2 separate regions of the Homo sapiens genome follow, and region 1 is linked to region 2. Evidence: promoter capture Hi-C in 16 types of primary human blood cells and fetal thymus (Javierre and others, 2016). All regions are on one chromosome and are shown on one strand. Each heading gives the region's core, a stretch centred on a gene start or on the middle of the fragment in contact. The rest is flanking DNA. Distances are from core to core; before and after follow the strand shown. Region 1 has its middle 11 kb from the start of DDX56. Region 2 holds the start of LINC00957 (long intergenic non-protein coding RNA 957).

Evidence for each region. The method cuts DNA at HindIII sites, captures the fragments that hold promoters and counts their contacts. A CHiCAGO score of 5 or more calls a contact.
Region 1: a fragment that was not itself captured here is called in contact with the fragment with the promoter of LINC00957 in region 2 in 1 of 17 cell types (endothelial precursors); the score reaches 6.0 in endothelial precursors.

The regions. Positions count from the first base shown.
Region 1 is chr7:44,560,305-44,565,646 of GRCh38, reverse strand. No RefSeq gene overlaps it. Among named protein-coding and RNA genes, the nearest start is that of DDX56, 11 kb to the left of the region's middle. RefSeq lists a silencer at 1-48 and an enhancer at 3,396-4,290. The HindIII fragment of the contact is 1,715 bases long and covers 505-2,219 here.
Region 2 is chr7:44,035,610-44,041,425 of GRCh38, reverse strand. LINC00957 (long intergenic non-protein coding RNA 957) reads right to left here and starts at 2,377. Exons shown (of 3, transcript NR_072982.1): 1 at 2,277-2,377; 2 at 1,064-1,532. It also overlaps the pseudogene RASA4CP. RefSeq lists silencers at 802-911, 1,002-1,091 and an enhancer at 4,543-5,042. The HindIII fragment of the contact is 32,056 bases long and covers 1-5,816 here.

The sequences.
Region 1 (5,342 bases), core at 113-2,612, 530 kb before region 2:
GAGAAGCCTGCCCTTGCTGGCAGGTGGCTATGGCCGGCCCAGAGCCTTCCTGCCCAGCTCCTGCAGCCCTGCTGCCTGGGATCAGGCTGGGAGATGGGCCTTCCTGACCGCCAGCCTTCCTCTCCCCGAGCACACGCACATGTAGATTCGGGGGGAAGCTGCCTGCTCTTCCTTAGAGGAGCCGGGGCAGCTATCTGCTGGTCCCTTTCTGAACAACTGTTGATGTGTGAGCTGTGTCTGTGTGTTATGTGCATAAGCGGTGGTGTGACATACACACATGTGTACTGTCCCTTATGCCCTGGCCTGAGCTCTCCAGCTGCCTTCTCAGCCTGAAGGCTGGGCTTCTCTGCTGGCTTGGGGTCCTAGATTGCATGTCACCTGCTTACCAGGCGTCACAAGGCCATGCTGGGGGCATGAGGAGGTTGGGGCAGCAGGAGAGTGGGGAGAAACTAGGAGAGTGCCTGAGTATTTTAGAAAGAACCAAGTTTTTTCTCGGCAAAAGCTTATACAGAGACGAAGGAGTCTGTGTCTTTGGTCATGGTAGGACTGAAGCTAGCAGGACCCGAGATTTGGGGCCTCCATGATCCCTGCTCCTCTTCTGTTAACACCCAAGGATTTCCACGAAGCCAGTGTGTATGATGGGGGCAGGACAGTGGTACTTTCTGGGCAGGTGTGAACTAGAGCTGCTAAGGAGCTGCAGACGATATTCTTGCAGTTTGGTGGTTAGCAGTATTCAGAAGGACAAAGAGTTAATGGAACTGGAGATAAAGAGCAACCATTTGAGCATCTGCTGGGAGACATCTGTCAACTGCACAGACCCTATCAGTGGGCATCGCTGCCACCTCTTGGAAGACAAGACAGGGCAGAGAGTGCCTGCAGTGCTGAGGCCTGGTCCTTGCCCTAGGTTGGCCTTCCCACCTGGCTTCATGGAGTGCTGAGGCTGGTCCTGGGGACAGTGAGTGCTCTGGATGTTTTAGCCAAGCTGTGTTCTAAAGTGATGCACAGTCTGTCTCCACTATGTTTATCTCTCTGACCCTGTCACTTCCAAGCACACCCTACCAAGAGCTTGTATCCCAGAGCCACCCTGATGGAGAGGAGATTGGTTTCCCCAGTGATTTCCTTCTTTGGGGGGTGGGGTAGAGGAACATGGAGCCAGCCTTATGCTGTATTCGTGCCTGGGGATAGCAGGGTCTGGGCCCGGAGCAGAGGAGCTTGGGTAAAGATATGGAGGCTGTTTGTTCAAAGTGTACATTCCTTCCTCCTAACGGCATCCCTGGGGGAAGCTATTTCTATGTTTTAGGTGGGGAAGATGAGGCTTAGAAGTTGCCTGGTGAATGAGGTTCTTTGCAAGATTTGGGTTCTGGCCTGTCCACCCTGGTGGAGTAGCTGGTACCACGGGGGCTTTTGCTGTGGGGTTAGGCACCATGTGGGCGCTCTGGGGCCAGGGCATTGGAAAGAATGGGAGGATTGCTTGAGCCCAGAAGTTCGAGGCTGTATGATCACGCAACTGCACTCCATCCTGGGCAACATACTGAGACACTCTCTCTCTTTTTTTTTGAGACAGAGTCTCACTTTGTTGCCCAGGCTGGAGTGTGGTGGTGCAATCTCAGCTCACTGCAACCTCTGCCTCCTGGGTTCAAGCAATTCTTCCCGCCTCAACCTCCTGAGTAGCTGGGATTACAGGTGGCCGCCACCACGCCTGGCTAAGTTTTTTATATTTTTAGTAGAGACAGAGTTTCACCATGTTGGTCAGGCTGGTCTTGAACTTCTGACCTCAGGTGATCCACCCACCTCGGCCTCCCAAAGTGCTGGGATTACAGGCGTGAGCCACCATGCCTGGCCGTGAGACTCTATCTTTAAAAAATAAAGAACAGGAAGGTCCATCTTCGTGTCCTGAGACTACAGAGAGAAAGTAAGTATAAATGGCTCGTTCAACACCCCACCTGGGAGGCAGGTACCATGTGCCCATTTACGTGTGAACAAACAGGCACTCAGGGTTGGCCTCTTGGACTTAGTCTGGCCAAAGCCTGTGCCCTTTGCACAAATGTGCAAATCAGGACTGGGGCAGGCCTTGGATGAGGGTATGTGTGCTATGGGCAAATGAACCTAGGGCTGTCCAGGGCCAAACAGCACAGAGGGCATGTGGGCCTGGAAGGGAGGAAGGAGGTGTGGCACATGCTGCGTGGAAGCCTAAGGCTTCACTAAACAGCAGAGAAGCTTGGATGGTTTTCAGGCTGGTGACGCCCTGGGCTGAAGCAGGAAGGTCAGGAGAATGCAGTGGCCTCTCCACTCTGGGCTGGCACAGTTTTGCCCACATGTATACCTGAATGGGTGCCTGGCTGTGTGGACTGTGCTATGGTCTGGAATCAGATGGACAAGGCACAGTCTATGAGGCAAGGAGCAGAGATGGTCAGCCAATGCAGACTGCTCAATAGTCATGTTGGGAGTTCAGGGTACTGGAGGGCTATAAGGGGCCCTCACCCAGTTGGAGAGAATGCTGCCTTCCTTGAGAAAGTGAGGTTTATGCTGAGATGGGAAGGGTGGGAGGGAACAGCAATCCTAGCAGGGGAGACAGCATGTGCAAATTCCCTGGGGTGGGAGGGATCCCTGCACATTTGAGGGTGAAAAGACCAGAGGGTTGTTACCAAAATATGCAATGGGGGCTGAAAATTTGATTTTTTAAAAAAATGTAATAGTCACATATTAAAAATTCAAAGGATACAGAAGATGGAGGGTTTTTGAAAACAAGGGCATTCTTTTTTTTTTTCTTTCTTTTTTTTTTTTTTTTTTTTGAGATGGAGTCTTGTTCTGTCACCCAGGCTAGAGTGCAGTGGCGCCATCTCGGCCCAGTACAACCTCCGCCTCCTGGGTTCAAGCGATTCTCCCGCCTCAGCCTCCTGAGTAGCTGGGATTACAGGCACCCACCATCATGCCTGGCTAATTTTTGTATCTTTGTGGAGATGGGATTTCACCATGTTGGCCAGGATGAACTCCTGACCTCGGGTAATCCACCCGCCTCGGCCTCCCAAAGTTCTGGGATTACAGGCGTGAGCCACCACACCCGGCCAACAGCATTCTGATGATATAGCTGGTGATAGCAGATGGGAGGACAGTGGTGTGCCCAGAAACCTCTGGACCTGGAGCACAAAAGGCTCAGGGTGCATTCCCAGCCCAGCGGATTCTCTGCCTGCATCTGCTAAGGATGAATGACTCAGCTTTGGGGGAATTAGTTGTGAGACTTTGGACTTCAGGGGCGGGGCCCCAAGAGGCAATGGTGATAAAGTTGAATTTGAGCAGGGAAGGTGCCCCGTCAGCTGTCATCCTTTTCCCCAGGAACATCATTATGTAAGACTCCTGCCTTGTGGAACAGGCTGTGAGTTGCTGCTCTTCCATTCCTCACAGCCATGTTTACAAGGGTAAGGAAGGGAAGGAGTGGTTCATCATTGCAGAGAGGAAGGTGCCTTGGCCAAGCAGACCTGCTCTGTGCCAGGCATGACACTGGGCAAATGCACAGTATTTAGTTTATTTATCCTGAAATGCTTTCAGAACTCAATGCATCCAGTGTCTTGTTATCCCTCCAGCCTATCCGCAAACCTGCTGAGATGCAGTAGGTTTGGCGTAGAATGCACTGAGGGTATCTGTGGCAACAGTGGGCTAAAGAACAAGGCACATCAAGGGGGTCTTCCGACGAACACCCCAAGGGTTGCCTCCACCACGCAGCATCCTGCTGTGGCTCGCCTCAATGTCCCAGGTGCTCTGTGGGCACAGTGGCCAGGTCAGACCATGATGGCCACTTTCTGACTGTATGGTCTCATACAGGGAAGGCATGTCACTTTTCTTGGCCTTCTCTAGGTTCTCACCTGTAAGTGGGGGTAAAATGTCCCCTCCAAGGGTTCCTGTAGGGGCCGAAGTGGCTCAGGCACCTGGCACGCCTGTTGCAGCCCAGCTCTGTGCTAGCACCTCCCAATGCCTGTTGAATCCACCATTGCCTTCTGGGACGTGTCTCCATACTTCCACGAGAATACGTCTAGGGCACAGCCTGGGGTTCTGCATTTGAGTTCTCACCTCCGTCCCAGGTGAGCCCAAAGGTGCTGGTCTCTAGTCCACATTTGAGAGGCAAGGCTTTAATATCCACCACACACATTTATTTTGCAGATTGGCAAAAGCTTAGATTAACTAGCCAGCCCAATGTCACTTGGCTAAGTGGTAGAGGGGAGGTGCTGTGTCTGTCAGACTCTAGTCTGGAATTGGAGGTGGGATACCTAGGTTCAAGTCCTGGATATGAAACTTCCCTGTCACATCCCTTCTCTGAGCCCAACACTTAATCCGAAAGTCATGGTGACGTGGGAGGCCAGGTAAAGTAGGAGATGTCTAGCTAGATTGGAATTTCAAATAATGAGGAATTTTACAGCATAACCGTGTCCTGTCCAATATTTGGGACATATGCTAAAACAGATATTCACTGTTTCTCTGAAATTCCAGTATAGCTGGGCATCCTGCTTTTTATTTGCTAAATGTGCAACCCTAGGTTGTGAGACCTCTCTGACCCACGCGTGGCCTCCTCCAGGAAGTCTTCCTGAGCGCCAGCCTGGGCTGGGCATCCTCCTCTGTGTGTCTGATGCTGCTCTGACCTCATGAAGCTCTAATTGCTGGGGCCTGTCCCCACCTTGATGTGGGAGCTCTTCGGAGGCAAGGACCATGCCAAGTTGCATATCTGTGTGTTCCTGAGTCCAGTGGTTCATTAAAAGCTTTTCCCTGAGAGTATCCTTAATGCCCCGGAGGTAATTCTCTTTTCACAACCTTTCTACTGCCTGAGGCTCTTGAGGACTAATTCCAGTTAAAAGCAGAGGGAAGGATGTGGTAGGAATAGCACCGCATGGAGCTGGACTCTGTGCCCCCCGTGCAGCAGGCAGGACCCTCCCTCTGTGTCACCTCCATGACTCAGGGCTCAGACAGGAAGCCCTCATCCTCGTCCTCCACGGGTCTCATGTTTGTCAAGGCCAGGGGTATCAGGCGTAGTAGGCAGGGGCCCATGCCTGCTCCCATCTGGGAGACCCTGCTTCAGGCCCCTCTCATGGCCCCTTTTGTTCCCCACAGCTCACTGTACAACTTGTTGGTTCAAGGTTAGAAAATGCAGTTTTGTGTTGAGGGGGACCATCACAGAAGACAAAGGGTCCAGGATGAAGGCTACCCATCAGCTTGCAGGGCTGGGACGAATGTGAGAAGCAACTGATGCTTGTACAGTAGAGAGTAAGCATGTAGGGCCAGTCCCCAGACCTTGCCTCCCCTCAGCCTTGACATGTGATCTCCATTTCTGGTGGCTACCCCTGCTAGTGGTCTGG
Region 2 (5,816 bases), core at 1,128-3,627:
CCCGCACCCCCCCCCCCCAAAAGAATGTGTGTGTGATTAAAATTTAAGTTAGAGACAGTCTCACTATGTTGCCCAGGCTGGTCTCAAACTCCTGGCCTCAAGTGATCCTCCTGCCTCGGCCTCCCAAAGTGCTAGGATTACAAGGGCTAAGAATTCTAGTCATTCATTCACTCACTCATTCATTCATTCATGAATAAACAGTTTGCCCTGCTTGTGTACCTGTCCCCCTCCTGGGCGGATACGGCAGGCAAACGGTGCAAGGGCGGCTGCCGGGAGAAGGTGGGCAGCTGGAGTGGGACTGGGGGAGACAGGATCAATGTGACCTGCGGTGGTCCCCAGGTGGCCGGGATGCAGTACCTGCACGGCGTCCTGGGCCCCATCATCAACAAGGTGTTTGAGGAGAAGTACGTGGAGCTGGACCCCAGCAAAGTGGAAGTTAAGGATGTAGGGTGAGGCCGGGGGTAACTCCGGGGGGGTGCGGGGCGCAGCGGCAGCGGGTTGGGATCAGGCCCTGTCAGCATGTGTGTTTGTGCTTCTGCCCACCCGTGTATTGTCCCCTGTGTCCGTGTCCCGGCTGCTGTGAGAGCCACTGTTCCTGTCGTGGCCCTGGCGCTGACCGTGACCTCCTCTGCCAACCCGCCCCGTTCCACGCAGGTGTTCCGGGCTGCACCGCCCGCAGACCGAGGCCGAGGTGCTGGAGCAGAGCGCGCAGACGCTGCGCGCCCACCTGGGGGCCCTGCTGAGCGCGCTCAGCCGCTCGGTTCCCGCGTGCCCCGCCGTGGTGCGCGCCACCTTCCGCCAGCTCTTCCGGCGCGTGCGCGAGCGCTTCCCCGGCGCCCAGCACGAGGTGCGCCCTCCACCCGCTGGGCTAGGCTGGGCCGGGTTGGACTGGGCTGGGGCGAGGGGCGGGCGAAGAGCGGTGGGGAACCAGGGAGCGCTGGGGAGGACCAGGGAGGCTGTGTCCCGGCGAGGGTCAGGGACGGAGCCTAAGGGGAGGGGGCTGCCAGGAGCCCTGGTCTGGGGGACTCCAGCCCGCGCTCTTCCGCACCCCTCCAGAATGTACCGTTCATCGCCGTCACCAGCTTCCTGTGCCTGCGCTTCTTCTCTCCCGCCATCATGTCGCCCAAGCTCTTCCACCTGCGGGAGCGCCACGCGGACGCCCGCACCAGCCGCACCCTGCTCCTGTTGGCCAAGGTGCGGGCCTTGCGGCCACGGGCGGGATGCACAGCTGGGTGTCCTACCGGGGCCCTGGCCTGGACTGCAGAGTGTTCCCTACCGGCTCCGGCGAGGCCACTGGCACGCCCACGTAGGCACTGCACTTCACAGTTTGCAAAGCCTTCCTGTGGCCACCTTGTCCGAGTTCCATCTCATGGATAAGGGAACAGGCCTGCGAGGGGTCGGGGGTTGCCAAGGCCGCCCATCCTGTCGGTGGTGAATCGCGGGACCTTCCAACCCAGGTCTGCTTACTCTCAGGCTGCACCTATGTGCCCGGCACCGGGGTGGGGTATCCAGTGCAGCAGCGTCAGTTAAACCTACAGAGGAAGGCCCAAGTGGTCTCAGTTATCATAAGGCATCAAACTTCATGATCCTCTCCTCCCTGATCCCTAGTGGGGCTGGAGGGGGCCCGTGGGCATGGCCTCTGTCGCCTCTGCCTCCATCGCTACAGCTGAGTAGCAAAGACTTGGGGAGGGGGGGTGGGAGGGGGTGCAGTGGCTAGGCCCCTAACCTAGCAGAACCTGGTCCTTCCTGCTGTCACCTCCAGGCAGTCCAGAACGTGGGCAACATGGACACGCCGGCTTCCAGGGCCAAGGAGGCTTGGATGGAGCCGCTGCAGCCCACCGTGCGCCAGGGCGTGGCGCAGCTGAAGGACTTCATCACCAAGCTCGTGGACATCGAGGAGAAGGACGGTGAGCGCCGCCCTGCACAGACCCGCCCACAGCCTACTGCTGACGTTTGCTCCGCCCTTGAGCCCCACGGCCCCACCCACCGCTGTTTGTTCCTCTCGTGGCCCCACCCACCGCCTGCTGTTGACATTTGCCAGGCCCCCAGGCCATAGACCCACGCACCACTGTTTGTGCTTCCTGTGACCCTGCCCACTGCCTGCTGTTGACGTTTGCCCCACCCCTAGACCCATGGCCTCACCTCCCATCATCTGTGCCTGTTGACATTTGCTCCATCCTTGAGCTCCATAGCCCCGCCGCCACCTGCTACTGACGCGTGTCCCGCCTCCAAGCCCATGGCCCTGCCTTCCTCAGTCCACCTGTCACCCCGCTCACCACCAGCTGTTGATGTTTGCTCCGCCCTTGAGCCCCATGACTACGTCCACTGCCTGCTGTTCAGATTTGCTCAGCCCTTGAGCCCCATGGCCCCGCCCACTGCTCCGCCCCCCCCCCCCAGTCCCGCCCTCATTCCCTGGGCTCTCTATTCCCCTCCCTCCCTGGCCTGGCAGAGCTGGACCTGCAGCGGACGCTGAGTTTGCAGGCGCCACCTGTGAAGGAGGGGCCACTCTTCATCCACAGGACCAAGGGCAAGGGCCCCCTCATGTCCTCCTCCTTCAAGAAGCTCTACTTCTCCCTCACTACCGAGGCCCTCAGCTTCGCGAAGACGCCCAGCTCCAAGGTGGGTAAGGAGGGAGGCCGGCAAGTGGGGCTCTGAGAGGCCGGCAAGTGGGGCACCTTAGAGGCACCTGTCCCCTTCCTTGGAGCCCACTTGAGGTACCCCCGGGGTCAGAGAAGAAAGCCAGGTGTGTGGCATCTGTACTGCTTGTCAGAACCTAGGAGGGCCGGGCACGGTGGCTCACGCCTGTAATCCCAGGACTTTGGGAGGCCAAGGCGGGTGGATCACTTGAGGTTAGGAGTTTGAGACCAGCCTGGCCAACATGGAGAAACCCCGTCTCTACTAAAAATACAAAAAATCAGCCGGGTGTGGTGGTGGGTGCCTGTAGTCCCAGCTACTCGGGAGCCTGAGGCACGGGAATCGCTTGAACCCGGGAGGCAGAAGTTGCAGTGAGCCGAGATCGTGCCACTGCACTCCAACCTGGGCAACAGAGCAAGACTCCGTCTCAAAAAAAAAAATGAATATGGAGGAAGTTGATCCGACCTTACCAGGTTGTTGAGGATTAAATGAGATGATCTCCCTAAGGGTCCTGACCCAGGGCCTGGCAGGTAGTACTATTTAGGCAAATGGTATTATTAAAGATAGTACATCACCTGGGCTGCTAGATGAGTAGGAGGCTAGGGCAAACAGGGGAGGCTTCCTGGAACGGGCAGGAATATAGAAGCATGGAATCTTGGTGTGGGAGGGGATCTCAAAGATCACCTTGTACAGCCCTCTCTGAGTCATGGGTCACCTCTCCTGCAAGCTCTCTTCTCCCAGGAAGGGCTGAGGACATACTTCCTCCATGGACCTGGTGACTGCTTGCTGTACACCTGCCCCTAGTCATGCAGGCTATGGGGATGATCTTCCAGGAGTACCCAGCCTAGCCCTGGGCAGGTGAGAGCAGGCTAGGAGTAGGTGAAGGAGCTCATCACCCACCCTGTTCTCAACCAGCTCAGGGGTCCCACCAGATGAGGGGCCCGCCCCTTCCGACCAAAGACCCCTCAGATGATGATAATTATTTTTTGAGACAGGGTCTTGCTCTGTCACCCAGACTGTAGTGCAGTGGTGCGATCATAGCTGACTGCAGCCTCAAACTCCTGGGCTCAAGCAATCTTCCTGCCTCAGCCTCCTGAGTAGCTGGGACTACAGGCACGTGCCACCAAGCCCAGCTAATTTTCTTTAACATTTTTTTTTTGCAGAGATGGGGTCTTGCTATGCTGCCCAGGCTGTTCTCAAACTCCTGGCCTCAGGCAATCCTCCTGCCCCAGCCTCCCAAAGCACTCAGATGATTATTATACATCTTCCTTGCCAGGGTTGAAAGATTTGACTACATGGGCATTATTTAATTCTGGTCCCATTTTTTTTTTTTTTTTTGAGATGGAGTTTCACTTTTGTTGCCCCGGCCAGAGTGCAATGGTGCGATCTTGGCTCACCGCAACCTCCGCCTCCCGGGTTCAAGCGATTCTCCTGCCTCAGCCTCCCAAGTAGCTGGGATTACAGGCATGCACCACCATGCCCGGCTAATTTTGTATTTTTAGTAGACACGGAGTTTCTCCATGTTTGTCAGGCTGGTCTCGAACTCCCAACCTCAGGTGATCCGCCTTCCTCGGCCTCCCAAAATGCTGGGATTACATGTGTGAGCCACTGCGCCCGGTCAGGATATGACTGTTAGAGCTTGGGACTACAAAAGCAAGTTGGAAAATTAATAAATGCAAAGTCACAAAGCCTTGGCCACGGCTGGATTGACTTTGTAGCCCAGGGAATGCTGGCTGTCCAGACACTACCCCAAAGCTCACACCTCCGAGGCCTTCTGGGAGTGCCCCCCAGAGAGGCCAGGTCCTCCTCTCCCAGTTGCTGGGCACTTGGTCACCATCAGTCTGTGCTCTGCCCTGGCTGAGGTCACTCTGGGTCTCCCACGCCTACCCCTGGTGCTGCAGAAGGGGAGACTGAGGCCCAGAGATGGGGAATGGAATGCCCCTGGCTAGGTCCCTGAGCCTCCTCCTCCCTGACTGCCCCAGAAAAGCGCCCTCATCAAGTTAGCCAACATCCGGGCAGCAGAAAAGGTTGAGGAAAAGAACTTTGGCAGCTCGCACGTCATGCAGGTCATCTACACGGACGACGCCGGCAGGCCCCAGACTGCCTACCTGCAGTGCAAGGTGCGGGGAGGGGAGCGGGTGCTGTGGGAGTGGCCTGAACACTGTGGGAGTGGCTTGGGTGCTGTGGGAGTGGCCTGGGTACTGTGGGAGTGGCATGAGCCCTGTGGGAGTGGCCTGAGCTCTATGGGAGTGGCCTGGGTGCTGTGGGAGTGCCCTGGATGCTATGGGAATGCCCTGGGTGCTGTGGGAATGGCCTGGGTGCTATGGGAGTGGCCTGAGCTCTGTGGGAGTGGCCTGGGTGCTGTGGGAGGGGCCTGAGTGGACTGGATGAGAAAAGAGTTGATTGAGCCTCTCGCCCCGCTACCAGCTACATCAGGCACCGCAGGGTGTGTCTAATCTGGGAGGTGTCAGGGACAGGTGTGTGTGTGTTGTCCAGGGGCCTGAGCCCCCAGGAGGCCATGGCCCATGTCTTTCCCTGGGCATCCATGTGTAGGTCTGTGTGTGGGCCAGTGCACAGACAGGTGCATCCCCGTGATGTGAAATTTGCACGTTGCACCCGTTTGTTGGAAACTATTTCCAGATAACTGAGATGGGGGCCAGGCACGCTGGTTCACGCGGATAATCCCAGCATTCTAGCCGGGGCAACAGAGCAAGACCCTTTCTCTAAAAAAGAAAGTCTGAGCTGGCACCTGTGTGGTTCTGTGTCTGTATCAATGCCTAATAATCAAACATTATGCTCTGTGTGGCTCTGGGTGCATGTTCTCAAGTAACCTTCTCATCTGTTCCTTCATTAACTCATTCATTCATTTATTTAAAAAATACTTACTGAGCACCTCCTAGGTTCCAGGCATGATTCTAGGTGAGGGGATACAGTGACAGATGAGGCAGAGTCCTGCCCTCATGGAGCTGATATCCCAGGGAGAAGATGGGCCAATAAATACATGTTTCAAATGTCGGCTCATGCCTGTAGTCCCAGTACTTTGGGAGGCTGAGGTGGGAGGATCACTGGAGGCCAGGAGTTTGAGAACAGCCTGGCCAATGTAGCAAGACCCCATCTCTACAAAAAAAAAAGTAGCCAGCCATGATGGCATGCACCTGTGATTCCAGCTACTTGGGAGGCTG